4 separate regions of the Homo sapiens genome follow, and regions 1, 3 and 4 are each linked to region 2. The links are contacts of gene promoters, found by promoter capture Hi-C in blood cells and fetal thymus (Javierre and others, 2016). All regions are on one chromosome and are shown on one strand. The core of a region is centred on a gene start or on the middle of the fragment in contact, and the rest is flanking DNA. Distances in the headings are between cores, read along the strand shown.

What was found. The method cuts DNA at HindIII sites, captures the fragments that hold promoters and counts their contacts. A CHiCAGO score of 5 or more calls a contact.
Region 1: a contact is called between a fragment that was not itself captured here and the fragment with the promoter of LEPR in region 2, in 1 of 17 cell types (total CD8 T cells). The highest score is 6.2, in total CD8 T cells.
Region 3: a fragment that was not itself captured here is called in contact with the fragment with the promoter of LEPR in region 2 in 1 of 17 cell types (non-activated CD4 T cells); the score reaches 6.0 in non-activated CD4 T cells.
Region 4: a contact is called between a fragment that was not itself captured here and the fragment with the promoter of LEPR in region 2, in 1 of 17 cell types (monocytes). The highest score is 5.4, in monocytes.

Annotation. Positions count from the first base shown.
Region 1 is chr1:64,745,487-64,749,336 of GRCh38, forward strand. The region is part of intron 1 of RAVER2 (ribonucleoprotein, PTB binding 2); the gene reads left to right. Among named protein-coding and RNA genes, the nearest start is that of RAVER2, 2.3 kb to the left of the region's middle. The HindIII fragment of the contact is 815 bases long and covers 844-1,658 here.
Region 2 is chr1:65,418,821-65,422,767 of GRCh38, forward strand. LEPR (leptin receptor) reads left to right here and starts at 1,848. Exons shown (of 20, transcript NM_002303.6): 1 at 1,848-1,920. LEPROT (leptin receptor overlapping transcript) reads left to right here and starts at 1,848. Exons shown (of 4, transcript NM_017526.5): 1 at 1,848-1,920. The coding sequence starts at 1,905. RefSeq lists enhancers at 1,162-1,694, 1,695-2,228, 2,302-2,351 and silencers at 1,342-1,411, 1,432-1,931. The HindIII fragment of the contact is 9,332 bases long and covers 792-3,947 here.
Region 3 is chr1:66,342,906-66,346,857 of GRCh38, forward strand. All of the region lies in intron 8 of PDE4B (phosphodiesterase 4B), which reads left to right. Among named protein-coding and RNA genes, the nearest start is that of SGIP1, 190 kb to the right of the region's middle. The HindIII fragment of the contact is 926 bases long and covers 2,006-2,931 here.
Region 4 is chr1:64,868,413-64,872,385 of GRCh38, forward strand. It overlaps JAK1 (Janus kinase 1), which reads right to left. Exons shown (of 25, transcript NM_002227.4): 6 at 899-1,062. Among named protein-coding and RNA genes, the nearest start is that of JAK1, 96 kb to the right of the region's middle. The HindIII fragment of the contact is 3,175 bases long and covers 891-3,973 here.

The sequences.
Region 1 (3,850 bases), core at 1-2,500, 670 kb before region 2:
TGGGATCGGGGGCGCCTCAGAGCGGTCCTGGGGAGTGGGTCGGCGCCGAGTGGTGAGAGCGGCCCCTCGGTTTGACTGAGTTCTTGGGGTTTCTAGCCTGCAGACGCCCTGCCAGGGAGGGGGGCAGATTGGGAAACTGAGGCTCTGAGTGGCGAAGCGGCTTCTCCAAGGTCACGGGAATCAGGGGCTGCTGCCTCCAAGTTCGGCCCGGTCTTTCCTTCCCCTACGGCCGTAGAGGAGTAGGAGGTGAAGGAGAGTGGAGGTGAGTTGTGGAGCACACATTTTGCGGGGGGGAGCGGGGGTAGAGGGGGCCGAAGCTTCGGGAGCACCTTGGCAGGGGCGAGGGCTCCAACGTATAGTCCCCGGTGCTCGGGAGTGCCATAGGGGGCAGGGGCACGAGAGAGCTGGGAGTGAGTTTCGCTGTTGTTGCAGAAGCACTTGCCCAAGTTTCTATGAAACAACTCTGTCTTCTCAGTTTGCTAAGGCCCCAGAATAGAGTTATTGCTGCGCTCCTTGGAGCCTTGCAGCCGCCTCCTGCTACGCCAAGTACAGTACTGGAGGGTTTGTTCTCAGTGACTTGGATGAGGTTTAAAGATAGCTACTCTGTGTATTTAATCCAGATTAACTGTTGCTTTTAAGATTAGAAACTCTGCATCTATTTAACTTTTTTTTTCCCCTGATTTCAAAAGCTGCATGCTCATTGTAGGAGAGCTAGGAAAGACAGAGAAGCACAAAGGGGACACAGAAATTACCCATATTTCTGATACCTGAAGATAACCATTGTTATCCTGGGATGTTGTTCTTTTCTCTTTTCCTATGCATATATATTTTTGTTTTATCAAAAGCTTGAAATCATTTCTTTGATTCTTCAGGATTTCTTAGCTGTCTGGATGTTCACACATGTTTCACATATAACCTGAATTTATATACTGCTCCGAGTGTGGTGGGCTGTCCTGGTAGTTGCGGATTTGTAGTTCCTCCTGTAACCGGATGCATGAAATTGCAAGAGGGCTGGCTATTGACAATTGCATGGCAGTTCTTCCATGTGACTTATAAAATAATGAGACCAATGCCCCATTACTATGTAATGAGACCTTACATAGCCATTCACAATAAATATGAACATATAACCTTATAACCCGTAGGCATGGGGGGCTATTTTGTTTCAAAATGCAGTGTCTGTCAGTATTGTTTATCTCATCTGTCTTTCAACTCTTTCCATTCCGCCATGGTCCACTTCCCATCTGTCAGGTAATGTTTTGTGATACTACCTGTTAAGGACACCTGCAATGGACTGATTTCTTGGAAGCAGCCTCCCCTGCCCATACAAATAGAGGACTGTAAGGGAGCTCAGGAAGGAGGAGGCTTGGAAGAAGCAGATGGCATTTTTTAAAAAAACAAATTTAAAAAATAGCAGCTCTTTGTATAGACAGTCTAGGAGGAGAGAAATAGAGAAGTATCTCAATGTCTTTGTAGAATGTCAGCTGTTTTTGTTATCACAATTCCTTGCATTAATTCTAAATATATTTAGACCCCAAATTGAAGACGTTCTGTCTATTCTTGCTTTGCTGTTGGTATCTTTCTCATTTCCCTTCGCAATAGACATGAAAAATATATCAAAGGGTCTAATAAAAGGAGCAGTTTTAATTAGTGATAGAAGCTTTCTCAGAATTACACTGGGATTTGTATTTTTGAGATTTCATCTACTTAAACTAATATTTTCATATGTTCTGCATGAATTTTTTTGTATTTTTTGTTTTAACAATTTCCCTTAATTATAATGTCTGCTTTTTCTTAGTGACTATATTTTACTGTCAACTTACTGATGAAAGTTTCACTTTATTTTATTTTGTGTCTTTTTGCTAGTAAGGCCTACATAAAATCACCTGTGCTAAAACTACATATTTACCCTTATGAAATGGTTAATATGGCTTTTGTTCAATTATTAAGTAATCAGATATTTTTGAAATACTAAGTTCTTGTTCTTTTCCAGAAGAGACTGTGTTTATTCATTCATTTCTTTCTTTCTTTTTTTTTTTTTCTGAGACAGAGTCTCGCTCTGTCATCCAGGCTGGAGTGCAGTGGCGCGACCTCAGCTCACTGCAACCTCTGCCTCCCAGGTCCAAGTGATTCTCCCTGCCTCAGCCTCCCAAGTAGCTGGGATTACATAAGCCTGCCACCATGCCTGGCTAATTTTTGTATTTTTTAGTAGAGATGTGGTTTTGCCATGTTGACCAGGCCGGTCTTGAACTCCTGACCTCAGGTGATCCCACACGCCTCGGCCTCCCAAAGTGCTGAGATTACAGGTGTGAGCCACTGTGCCTGGCCTCATTTCTTTATTTTAGAATATCACTTTAAGGATCAAAGACATTCATAACTCTAGTTCTCAAACTGTGTATTTATGTCTCTAGAAAATACTGATCAATAACTTACTAGTAGAAACCCAATAATTTTTTCTTAACATTTGAAATATATGAGTGTTTTCTTTATTAAATGTAGTTTTCATAAATCTCAAATTTTGTTTTATTTTTGGTATAGCAGATTTATAATAGCATCCCACAACTTTATAGTTCCTATAATTAAAAGGCATACTGAAAGTATTTTTAACTGGAAGCTTTTAGAGGTATGTTTATCAAATACCTTATAGAAGTACCGGCTCTAAAAAAAAGTGAACACCTTTATATTAAGTTCTCAAAAGCTTTCTCACTGAATAATTACTGTGCATTCAGTCAAGCCCTGTCTGGTCTGCCTAAGCTTTCTGGAATCTTCCTGGCCCTCTTTGTTTTCACAGCCTCAGCTCTGGTTCAAGTCCTTTTCGTCTCTTGTTCACTGTTAACAACTTTTCGGTTTGTCACCTACCTTCATTACTGTCCTGTTTCTTACATTTTAGCTCCTTCTGCATGCTACTTCCCTTGAGGGATACTCCTGAAGCACAAATCTGATCATGTCACTCTCCTGCTCATAAAAAACCAGCCTTTGGCTGCACGTCCTCTCAAACTTTTCCTCAAATTGTCCTTAACAGTAAAGAACAGTGAATCTGAATTAGACTGTTGCAAGACTGAAATTGCTTTGAAGTTTTGTGTTCTGTCTGAGAATTTTATATTAATTTTATATTCTATTAGTAACATTGGATTTAACACAAAAATAGCATTTAACTCCCAATTTTTTTTCATAAACTTGACACTTATGGAAAATGTACTATATTTGACTTTTGATTCTCTGTATTTCTGTATTACCATGGAGTACACAGATATGAGTTTGAAAAGCATGAAATGATAGGACAGCAGTCTAAGATTCTTAGGCTTTTTGTGTGTTGGCCCCTGCCTACGTTTCCAGTCTCATTCCTTTTTAGTTTTTATTTATTGTTTTGAGACAGGGACTTGCTCTGTCACCTGGACTGGAGTGCGGTGGAACGATCACTGCTCACTGCAGCCTTGACCTTCCAGGCTGAAGCGATTCTCTCACCCTCTAAAGTAGCTGGGACTACAGGCATAAGCCACCATGCCAGGCTAATTTTTTTTTTTTTAATTTTTTGTAGAGACATCGTATCTCTATGTTGCCTAGGCTGGTCTTGACCTCCTGGACTCAAGCAATCCTCCTGCATTTGCCTCCCAAAGTGCTGGGACCACAGTGTGAGCCACTGCACCCAGCCATCAGTCTCATTTCTGATTAGTCCCGCATTGGATTCTGTTCATTTCTGATTAGTCTTGCATTGGATTTTTTGTTTGTTTGTTTGTTTTTTGAGACGGATTCTCACTCTGTCGCCCAGGCTGCAGTGCAGTGGTGTGACCTCGGCTCACTGCAACCTCCACCTCCTGGGTTCAAGCGATTCTTCTGCCTCAGCCTCCCG
Region 2 (3,947 bases), core at 598-3,097:
AGTACCGTGTACCTATTTGCTTCTTCCTAATTGCCTTCAGCTCAAAATAATCCTTAAACCAAAGTGGCATACACTGCCAATGCTCTTGAGTAGATTGAAGGCTCCAAAGTAAAAAGTGCTGTACTGTAGTATTGGATCTCCAAGCATCAGCAGTGAGTCAGGTATTACAATGCTGTTTTCAGTGAGTGTGCCATCCGTCTATGAGGAGAAATGAGAGGAGCTAGAAAAATAAACTGACAGCTAGAAAAATACTCCACTGAATCAACAAATAGACATTTCTTGAAACAGTAACATGCTCAATGTGCAATTTTGAAAAAGTAAACTGAGCAAGGATCATGAAACATGATGGTGGTGAGAATTTATACTTCTCAGGTAGCCAGGGGAAGCTAGGTTTCCACAGATTCCTTTGTCTTTCAGTCCTTTTGAAAACGGAGAAAAAGCAAGAGAAGAGGGACGGCACCATCAGGTAGAGTGGATCTCAGCTAGAATGAGGGGAAGTGGCCCAGAATCCAACCTCCTCCAAAGAGCTGTGTGACAGGCAAGTCCTATCCTTTCTGCACCTCTTTCCTTAAATGTAAGTTGAAGCATTTGGACCAGACTGTTTCAATGATCTTCTAGATTGCTTTTGCCAAAACAGAACTCTCCATTCCTGTAAGATAAGTACACAATGGCTCTCAGAGATCTAAAAACTGGCCTTGGTTACCTGCAAACTTTGAGGCCCCAAGGCACAAAAATAATAGCTTTTTTTTTTTATTTTTTTTTTTAAGGTTCATGAAAGCTTCGGACACAAAAGCTTATATGGTCTTCGTCTCTATAAATAAACCAGGGAGTAAAGAAAAACCCCGCTAGTTTCAGTAAAGCGTTGCTATTAAGCAAAGCAAACCTATGCAAATATCAAGTTCTTAATGAGGAGTGTTTCCTAAGGGGCCTGTCCTCTGGTACCCCGCCTCTCCTCTGCCACAGTCATGTGAAGGCAGACAGGCACACACTCGCACACTAGCACGCACTTGGGAGCTCAGGGAACATAACACTGGTTAGTGAGTCGGTGTCCCTCTCCCATCGATTGCAACTTTTCCCCTCCTTCCCTCTCCTGCCTCTCCCCACTTTCTACATCTCCGTTCTCAGGAAGGCTCAGGGAGGATCCCCCGCTGCGTGCACTGCGTTCTGAGAGGCCGGGGAGAGACTCTGGGCCCGCGGTCGGGGCGGAGCCAAGGTCCCAACCCACATTGAACGGGCTTGAGGATTACTTGGAGGGCTCAGGATCTAGGAGGAGGGCCCAGGGCACTGGGTTGGGGTTACTCTGGGAAAGCTCTGTGGGACCAGGTGGGACCTTAGGGCTGGAGATGGACTCTGCGAGCTGGGGGCGGAGTTCTAGACTGGCAGGAGCGGAGTTCTGGGTGGCGGGGGCGGGGTCGGGACCAGCAGGGACGGCCTCTGAGAGTTGGGGGCGGAATTCTGGGCCGGTGAGGGCTGGGGCGGGACCAGCAGGGGAGGCCTCCGCGAGCTAGGGGAGGAGCTCTGCATTGTCTGGGGCGGGGCTTCGAGTAGCGGTAGCGAGGTCTGGAGCCGCAGGCGCTGCCTCCGCGAGGTAGGGGAGGAGCTCTGTACTGTCAGGGGCGGGGCTCTGAGTAGCGAGGCCGGGTCTGAACTATCAGGCGCGGCCTCTGCGAGCTGGGGGCGGGGTTCTGCACCGGCGGGGGCGGGGTTGTGAGTGGTGGGGGCGGGGTCTGGAGCAGCAGGCGCCGCGTTTGCGAGCTAAGGTCGGAGTTCTGCACCGGCGGGGGCGGGGCTCTGCGTGGCCGGGGCGGGCTCGGGATCCGCGGGGCGACTCCCGGTCTGGCTTGGGCAGGCTGCCCGGGCCGTGGCAGGAAGCCGGAAGCAGCCGCGGCCCCAGTTCGGGAGACATGGCGGGCGTTAAAGGTACATCGCGGTCCCCGGCTCGCTTGTCGTGTGGTGGGGTTGCCACCTCCGTTCCGGTCAAGCCTGGGGCTGCGCCTTCCGCGCGCCGTTGGGGAACGGCCTCACCACCCTTCCCGCCTCTCCGGTTCGGGAGGCGATCGACCGCTCCCTTCGTCCCTTGGGGTGTGGGTGGAGCGGCGTTTCGGGGGAGCCTTGGCCCTTTTTGCAAGGCCGCTGGCCTTCCTGCTCTCCAGTGGCGGCACCAGACCCCTCCCCAGCCTGAGCCCTCGGCGAGAGCGGCGCCCTCCACCTCTCCTGAGTTTTTAAACAAGGTTTCCACTTCTTGACGCCACCCTAACGCCTTTCTTCTGGTTTTCTGCCCCTCCGCAGTTTCCTATTTGCCACAAAGGACCCTTTGTCTCCAGCGTTCTTAGCATTGGGAAACTTAATCCTCTTTTTCCTAATGATTTTTCCAACTGGGCAGAGTTGACCGCGGGCGGGTGTCAATGGAAAGCACCCAGAAAGACGGTGTTTCTCGCAGTCGTGGAGAGTAGATTACGTGTAATTTTAATACTGCTTTCTTCGGTGTTTTCTCTGTTTATGGACAGAGAAGAAACCAGTGTGTGTGTAGTATGTGTTTTTTGCATGGGGCAGTTGGTAAAAACACCGCGTCCCTTATCTGTATGGCTTCAGAGCAATGCGAGACGGAAAAGGTTTTTTGCAAGGCTTCCTGTATTTTGGTAGGAAAACATTCCATTTCTAATCTGTCGAATAGAGTAGCATGACTTGTTTTTATATTGGCTTTTATATCATCCTTGAAATTTGCACCCAAAGATATCCCCAGTTAACATCTGCTATAAACATGTAGATAGTATATATACGAGTACGCCTCTGTTCACTATGAATTTATCCGAGTATGTGAGCTGTTAGCAGCAGACATTTTATCGTTATTTCTGGCTGACTTTTATACTTAATATCAGTTTAGTAAACATGGTTTACTTGGAGAGTGTCGACTGTGTTATATATCCATTTGAAGCCAATGCCGAAAACAGATGAAAAGTAGTGTCTCAGTACTACACATGATCAGAAACTACCAAATCATGATCACGTTTATGTGTGAATGTGTTAGAAAATTGTGATGTAGTGAAAAAAAAGGAAGTCTGAAATGGAAACGGACTAAGGGAAGGAAGCATTTTACAGATTGTTCAACTTTTATTGAGGAACTACTGTATGCCAGAGACTTAGGATACAAAGATAAATGAGAAGTTATTGGTGGGTGACAGAGCTGGAAATAATTATATTACTATGTCAGTGTTTATGTTGGGCTCAGATGCGGTGGGAGAACAGATGGTGGGTTGGATTTTGTCCTCCAAAAAGATGTGTTCAAGCTCTAATTCCCTGGTACCTGTGAATGTGATCTTATTTGGAAGTAGTATCTTTGCAGATATAATCAAATTAAAATGATAACTGGTTTAAGGTGGGCCCTAATCCAATGACTGGTGTCCTTATAAGAAGAGGGGAATTTAGACATAGAGACATACAGGGAGAATACCATGGGAAGACGGAGACAGAAATTGGAGTGATGCAGCTACAAAGTCAGGAGCACCAAAGATTGTTGGCAACCATGCTGGCAACCACTGAGTGTTAGGAAGAGGCAAGGAAGGGTGCTTCCCTACAGCCTTCAGAGGGAGTGTGGTGGCGCTGCTGACACCTTGATTTCAGAAGTCCAGCCTCCAGAACTGTCAGAAGATAAATTTCTGTTGTTCTCAGCCATCCAGTTTGTGGTACTTTGTAACGGCAGCCCTAGGAAGCTGATGCAGGTGGGATTGATTCCCCTGCTCCAGAGAAAGGACTGTTTTCACAGAAGAGGCGATGCTTGAACTGAATCTGAAGGGATCAATGTGGCTTCCCTTGGCAAGGCATGGAGTGAAGGTGGAGTATATCCCAAGTGGGGAGGACAGCACGTGACATGGCGCAGGGCTTATGAAACAACATGCCTTCTTCTCTTCAGGTACTTAAGCTACATTAGTAAGACCAGAACTTAGTGG
Region 3 (3,952 bases), core at 1,219-3,718, 920 kb after region 2:
GCAGTGGTGCATGCCTGTAGTTCCAGCTACTGGGGTGGCTGAGGCATGAGAATCGCTTGAGCCCTGGAGGCAGAGGTTGTAGTGCACCAAGATCGCACTACTGCACTTCTGCACTCCAGCCTGGGTGCTGGGTGATGGGAGTGAAACCCTGTCAAAAAACAACAACAAAAAAAAACAAAAAAAACTAAAATGGAGATTTTATTGAGGGAAAATCCATTTACAGGCTAGGAGAATCATTTGTGTATAAAAAGGAAAGGCACAGATTTTTTTTAAAAAAGAGAGACTAAAATTGTTAGTAGCTCCTCTTGATTAAAACAGTGGACTTCCAACTTCCTCTCTACCCTCAATGTCAGAAAATCTATGGAAAATATGGCTTAAGAATATTATCATCACTTGAGAATAAAGAAACAGAGGGATTTACCCTCCATCTTCATATTCCATTGACTAGAAAACTTCCCCTTGGCTCAAACATGTCATCAGATCAGACCCTGTGCTATGATTCTGCTCCTAGGACGCCAAACTGTGGGGCTTTTTTTGAAACCCTCCCTTAGCTATTCTAACTTCCATAACATTTTCAAAGGCCATCCTCTTACCTATCTTATCAATTAATACCATAGCTAACATTTTAGTTATCTGGGATTTTATTTATGTCTGCTCAGATTGCAAGTTTGAATGTTTGAGACTCCACTTTCCTTGCAGGATTCGGGCTAATACATGCCAAGGAGGCATAGATTTCTTTCTGTTTAATTGTAAGGATGGAAGTGAAAAGCAAAGAAAGTTTTTGTCAGTTGGTGGTAGTTGATTTTTGGTTTATTTTAAAAAGCTGTCTGCAGTTTTCTTGATCATTTAAGAAATTTGTTGACATGGCACTTTTAATAGATTATCCTGCTTTTAAAGAATGCTGGCATGGGTAATGACCTCACTGGTGGGCACAGAACAATAATAAAGATAGAATTTTTTTTTTTGTATTTTCAGAAATTTAAAGTTATGAAACATTTTTAGACTATCCAGTGGCAATGTGCATTTCCAGTATACTTTTGTATGATGGTGAGAAGCTAGGGACCTTCTAATGGGTCACTAATGAAATGGACTCCAACTCCCACTCTGGATCTCTCACTCATAATCCACAAGGATTAATTTAACCTGCCAGATGCTACCCATTTAGCAAGCTGAAAGGACACAGTGCCCCCCAATGCCTGTAGCCTTGTCTGCTGTTATTGCTATTGCTGGCTCCATTCTATAAGTGAGTCAGATGATTTAGATACATATATGTTTACTAATGCAATGGGTAGTTTTTCTTGGCCAGGCTCAGTATATTATTTGTGTTCTTGTCAGGGAGAGCTACCAGTGAATTTTTTCCTGCTGTATTTTAACACTCAGGAACTGGTTGTGCAAAGTTTATTTGCATCTTTCTTGTGCATTGCATGGGAGTGTCCTTGAGAATATCTTGTAAACATTTGCTAGTATTGTTTTTTAAATATTTAAAAATCAGTATCATTTAATTTCAGAGAATTTGCTTCAACTTACTGGAATTAATTAAAAATGCTTTTGTATTTATATTTTTTCTTTTACATATTTAAAGTATTAAGATAAAGTCATTGTCTAATGTTGTCTGCCATAGTAAAATTTGCAAACTGAGAAAGGTCACATACTGCTTTTCAAGACTCTTTAGGGCCTTTAATACAGTGCTAAAATAGAAGAACTTTGTCAAAAATAAACAAAAGTATGAACTCCTTGGTAGGAGTAGATTCTCTTTGTTTTAAAAAAGTTAAATACATTGGGTTAAAATGAGCAAAATATGAGCTCCTTTTCGTAAAGTTAATAAAGGAGGAATAGAGATTAGGAAAAATTCAGAAATTTCCAATCACTGCTTTTCAAATCTAATCACATGATCCAGGACTTCATTTCCCAGAAAACTCTGCATCTGCCCGAGGGAACATTAGTTATGAGACAGTGCAGAGATTTCTAAGGCCCATTTCTTCACTTAAAGTTTATGTGCTCTCAAAGCTTCCTGTGGTACCAGGATAGAGCATTAAATAGCGTTATTCTCTTTGAGTTATAGCTGTTTCTTATTTTTGTGTTGTTAGATCCAATGTAGCATGGTAATAAAACATATTTGAAGCATCCCTTCCTGCATACACAGCGCTCTTACCTGTGTTCTCGTATGACACTCACCCTGAGGAAGGTCTTATTGTATCCCCATTTTCAGATATGAAACTGAGATTCGGGAAAGATAACCGATTTGTCCAAGTCCTTTACCTACTAAATGTCAAGACATAGAATCAAATCTTGTTCTCTTTGCTCAAAAGTTGAGCAAAGTTGTTCTCTTTGCTCAAAAGTTGAGTTAAAAATAAAAGTTAAAGGGAAATCCACAATTTATTATATTCTCGTATAACTTGTTAACAAAACATATCATCACAGAATTTTAAAGCTAGAAATCAGCGAAGTCTTGTTTTTCAGACCTCAGTTTAGATATCACCTCTTAGAAAGACCTTCTTTTATTACCCTAATTCAGCTGCTTGTTGGTTTTGCAATTTACTATCACAATTTATGGTTTTTGGTTTTGATCATGGAACTTGGTTTTTACTGATATCTTTCATTAGACTGTAAAGTTACTGAAGACATGAATTGTGTCTACCATGTTCACTAGTGAAGCCCCAGCAGTTACACTAGCTGTAGACACATGGTAGGCATTAGAATAAATATTTTTTGATCAATTGCATGAGGTTCAGAAACTTAATCTAATTTGTCCAAGACCAAGTATTTGTTAGTGATAAATCCATTAGAACCCTGGAATCCTGTTTCCTGTTGTGCGGCAATGGCTACATGTAGGGGCCTGCCATGCCTAATTCCAGCTTTCTAATTGTTAGGTTGCATGAGAAACCCTCATCTGGTTCCCAATGACCCCCAAAGTACCCTGAAAAAAGGGAAAGCTTATTCCTACCCTTCTCTTTCATCCAGAGTCAGATAACAAAGAACAAAGTTGTCAGGGACCAGTGCTTTCTTCCTGTGAGCAGAAATGTGAAGCATGGTTTTGGTTGGGGTTTTTGTTTGTTCGGTTGGCTTTTGGTTCAGTTTTGCAATATTTGGCTTACTATTCTCTCAAAAAGTCTGCATCCTGTGGACAAGAATCTAAGCCCTTTGGAGACTAGCAATGGCTATTCCACACTCTCTGGGGAGCCTATTTATGAGCACATGTGTTTGTAATTCAGCCACTCTCCATATCTGTTGGAGAATAGCAGCCTAATTATCTGCCATCATTTGGTTATGTTTTTCATTCCTGGCATATTGGTGACACTCCTCTCACCTGAGCCACATATTCAATTAATTCATATGTGTTACCACATTGATCTTAACTGTGAAAATCTGAGCAAAATGCATACTTGGTGCAGTTATCCTCATGTCAGGTAGTCTGTGGTCAGTCACAGCTTTTAGTCAATAGATAAAAAGTTGTAAAGTGTCTTAATTTGAGAAAATTGGCTAAACCAAAGAAGCATGAATGGATAGTTACCAACAGCTGGATTTCTCCAAATAGACTCTTTTTTTACGGTTTAACTTAAGCATAAGACCATTTTGAGTTATGGTGCTTTTCATTTGACTTGCTTCATCTATCTTTCTGGCAATTCTTGTTTACGCTCCTTAGACTGGTGAATAATCTAAATGTCAACCAGAGAGTCTGAACTTCTATGAGTAACTCATGTGTCACATAATCTATGTGACATAGTAGTGCATCACACCTGCAGCAGCATGCTATGGGAATTCTGTAATTAATTATATATGCTGCTGTCAACAATGAAAAGAAGGTGTTCAAGTATCAAAGAACCAACTGAAACTTCCACCCAAAAGCAAAGCCAAAGTGAGAAAGGTACCATGAGCTCAGATTATTTTGAAATTTACAGATAAAACCTAGCTTCAAGTACAAATCCTGTGGAAGAAAGAGCACACACTTGGT
Region 4 (3,973 bases), core at 1,228-3,727, 550 kb before region 2:
GTTATTTTTCTTTTAGATTAATGTAATATAACAGAATTAGAGAAGAACTGTCATTTTTCAATTTAGCTTATGAAAAAATAAAGAGGAAGTACCCAAAGTGAAGGCCACAGAAAAAAGAGAAAGCAGCAGTTGAGCAGTATCGACTCAATCCCTGCATCACTGAGGAGCAAGCTGTGATCTGCTCTAGACTCTGGTCAAGCGCAAGGAGAAACAAGCAGCAACCTAATGAGAAGACGCACGCCGCCTATCACAAACAATGCAGCTACGAAATCCCTTCTTCAAAATGAGACTGTCTTCATTTATGACCATCCTAATAGCCCACTGGTGAAAAAAAACTATTGGATGTCATAGATGGACAGAACTTAAATATTCCTTCACAGAGACTTGATCTCAAACGATATTTTTAAGTAAATGCAATTTTCTTGAGATATTTAATAGTAGTTGATCAATTCTCACATTAGAATTAACAGCTCTGTAGTGAACTACTGTAACGTGTTCAGAGTTCAGGCTTGGGATGGTAGTAGCTGCTTACAGAACTGTACTGAGAAGGATTTTTAAGATGGGTCCAAAACAAAAGGAAAAAATGCAGTGATAGACGACAGTGTCCACCATGGGCAAGGAGGGGACGGAGAAGGCCTGGGGGCCACTAATTTTATTGGCATCCTCAGCTCAGAAATTTCACCCAAGCACAAATTTCTGAGATTAGCAGCCAACATCCAAAATCAAGACACAATTATAATTAGGCTACGTGTATGTAGTAAACATTCTAAGGAAGATCTGGGTTTCATAGAGAGCAAAGGTCAGCCAAACCCTGGCAGTAATTAAGCTGAAATGTGTAAGAACATGTAGAAACACCACCATCCTCACAATCAATTCTTCAGCCAGTGGGAAGCTTTACCTGATGTCCTTGGGCAGTTCTGGCAACTGCATCTTCTTCATCATGGCATAGTGTGAGATGGCCAGGACAGCCATCCCTAGACACTCGTTCTCAATATCATGTCCATCCTGCTCGGTCTTGGGGTCTCGAATAGGAGCCAGGCATTTCACCAAATCATACTGTCCCTAGGAGCAAGGGGGAGAAACCATGAGAGCCCACCCGTTTTTGATCTTGACAAGAAGGCTACTACACAGGGAGGGGCCGCCTAGAAACGCAGCACAGCAACGAGACGAATCAGATTGGCAGTTTCTCTAGCATCAGAGCTCTTTTAAACAGAGTTGGGTGTGAAGGGGCTCAGGAGATGTTCTCCCCCGCTCATTCATTTAACAAAACATTGACTGAGCACTATGCCAGGCACTGGGGAACAGTACAGACATACGAAGTCCCTTCGCCATAGAAGTGACGCTGACAAACACTGTGTACTAGGCCTGGACTGCGCCAGAGCAAGGGAAGGTGACACTGGGCTGAGGTCTGATCATGCATGAATTCCACAAACATGCTTAGATGGCCTTGTCTAGGAGCTGGGTGTACAGAGTTGATGGGGCTCTCCCTCCATTCTGGTGTAGCTCTAGGGAAAGGGGAACGTTCCGCAGTGCATCATCACCACATGTACATTTTCCCACATCTACCGTTCGAGTTTCCCATAGTGAAATGTGTCACCAAAATATACCCCCCCACTGATGGAGGTGCACAGCATTCTAAGAACTAACGGGAACTTTAAACACAAAAACTAAAACAAGGCTAACCAGCAGTGCCCAGCCCAGCTTTGTACAGAGTGAAAACGATAATTCCAGTGCCGGCTCCCACTGATTAAACCCTGCCTCAGTGCTGCCACACAGTGCTTGGCTCCTTTATTTAGTCCTCATAACACCTTACAACGTGGATGTTAACATCGTCATCTCCAACAGATGAGGAATCTAAGGCACAAAACAGTAAACAGCCCCTATTCAGTCACTCCTTCATTTGGTAATTATTGAGAACTAATTATGGGCTAGATGTTATTCTAGGTGCTAGGGAAACAGCAATAAACTAAACCACGTTCCTGATCTCCTGGAGATTCCACTCTAAGGAGAAAGAAAAGAATAAATGACTAGGAGTATCTAACGTCAGGCAGTTATAAAACCCCAAGTCAAGTAGAAGAATTGAGTACCCTGGGGGCCCAGGGCTTAGCAAGTGGTAGGCTGGGATTAAATCTAGACCTGGCCAGGACCACTGTTCAATGCCGTGCTACAGCCACATTCGGTTTTCATCAAATGACTTAAAGTACATAGAACACTAAAGTGTGAACTCTTAAGCCTTTCTCCAGCTTGGAGCAGGGCAGGCACAAAGCCTGGGAGAAGTGTTCCTGCATATGTGAGATGCTCTCTTTCCCTGAAGAACTTCAGATTAATGGTTTTTGGATGGAGGGCTCCCACTGCTCCCGTTTCTCTTCTTTTCACCATGGGATATCTTGTTTCTCTCAGGTGAGGAAAGGTCACTGACATTCCAAAAACTTCTGAGGAACAATGATCTATGCCAGTAATGTGTGAAGAGCAAAGGAAAACCTGAAACTGTCCTGTTGGCCTGTGGTTTTTTTGTAAACATTCACTGTACAGCTACCTCAAGTCACTTATTCCTGAGCCTCCAAAAGGTCAATCTAACGCCATGCTTATTCTTCAAGTATGGCACACTCTTCCTTTACACCTCTGCTCCCGGGAAAGGTAAAGAATAAATCTCAGCTATGGATACACAAAACTGGGAAGCTGAATCCAAAAAGACCATCTAAAAATGGCCAGTTCATTTTCTTTTTTTCCACACAGTATCTGCCTGGGGCTGTGCACTGTCCCCTTTCTCTGTTGTCTCTATGGCAGTTCTAAGGCATAGATGGAATGGAGATAATGGACAATTAGTAACTAAAGCCCTACAGTGGGACATAACTCTGACACAGATATACTGATACGTGTGTGATCTCACACATAATGGTATACTCTAAGGTAATAATAAACAGAACGTGTACAGGACCACCTACGTATGCAGTTGTTCACAACAGACTATAAAGTAATAGCATAAAAGGGAAAACGAGAAAAACAGAAAATGTCCAGGAACGGGTGACTAAGTTAAATAAATGACGGCTTTTCCTCTGGACTCCAGCCTCATTACTCAATTTCCTACTTGAAATCTCCACTTGTATGTTTCACAGGCATCTCCGAAAAAGGACTCCTGATTTCTGCCCCTTCCCCACCCTCTTCCCCCAAGACCTTCCCTGTGTGGGGAATGACTCCATTATCCATCCGACATCACCCAAAACAGAAACCCAGTCATCATCTTTGATTCCTCAAATTCTCTCAGCTTCCACATCCAACTCAACAGCAAATCCTATCAATTCTATCTTCAAGATGAACAGCAGATCTACTCATTTTGCTCCACTGCCACTGTTGCTACACTAGGCCAAACCAGCATTTTCTCTCCCAGGATCATTGCTGCAGACTCTCAGCTTGTATGTTTCGAGTGTACTCTTGGACCCAGCACAATCTGCTTTCCACGTGTAACAAGAATCATCGACTTGAAACATACATAAAATGAAGCCTTCCAAATGGCTTCCCACCACACTCAGGGTTAAAGCATAACCCCTTGCCAGCTCCTACAAGGCTCTGTGTATGCAATCTGCCCCCACCTGCCTCTCCAGCCTCGTTCCCCATCACCCTCCTCTGGTCTGCAGCCACATGGTCTCTCCTTGCAGCTCTACTGGCCCTCAGGGCCTTCCCCCATTCTGTTCCCTCTACATCAGATCTTTTCAACTGAGGCTGAGAGGAGAGTCGGCAATATTGAAGACATTTTTGGTCATCACTGCTAAGGAGAGAGTGCTACTGGCATCTACTGGGTGGAGGCAGGGATGCTGGTAAATACCCTACAATGCATAGGGCAGGCCATCACAGCAAAGAATCATCTGGGCCAAAAGGTCAGTAGTGCTGCTGCTGAGACACTCTACATGGAAGAAATAGTCCCCCACCCCTCTCTTAGAATTGCAGATTCCTTTTTATTCTTCAGGATTCATTA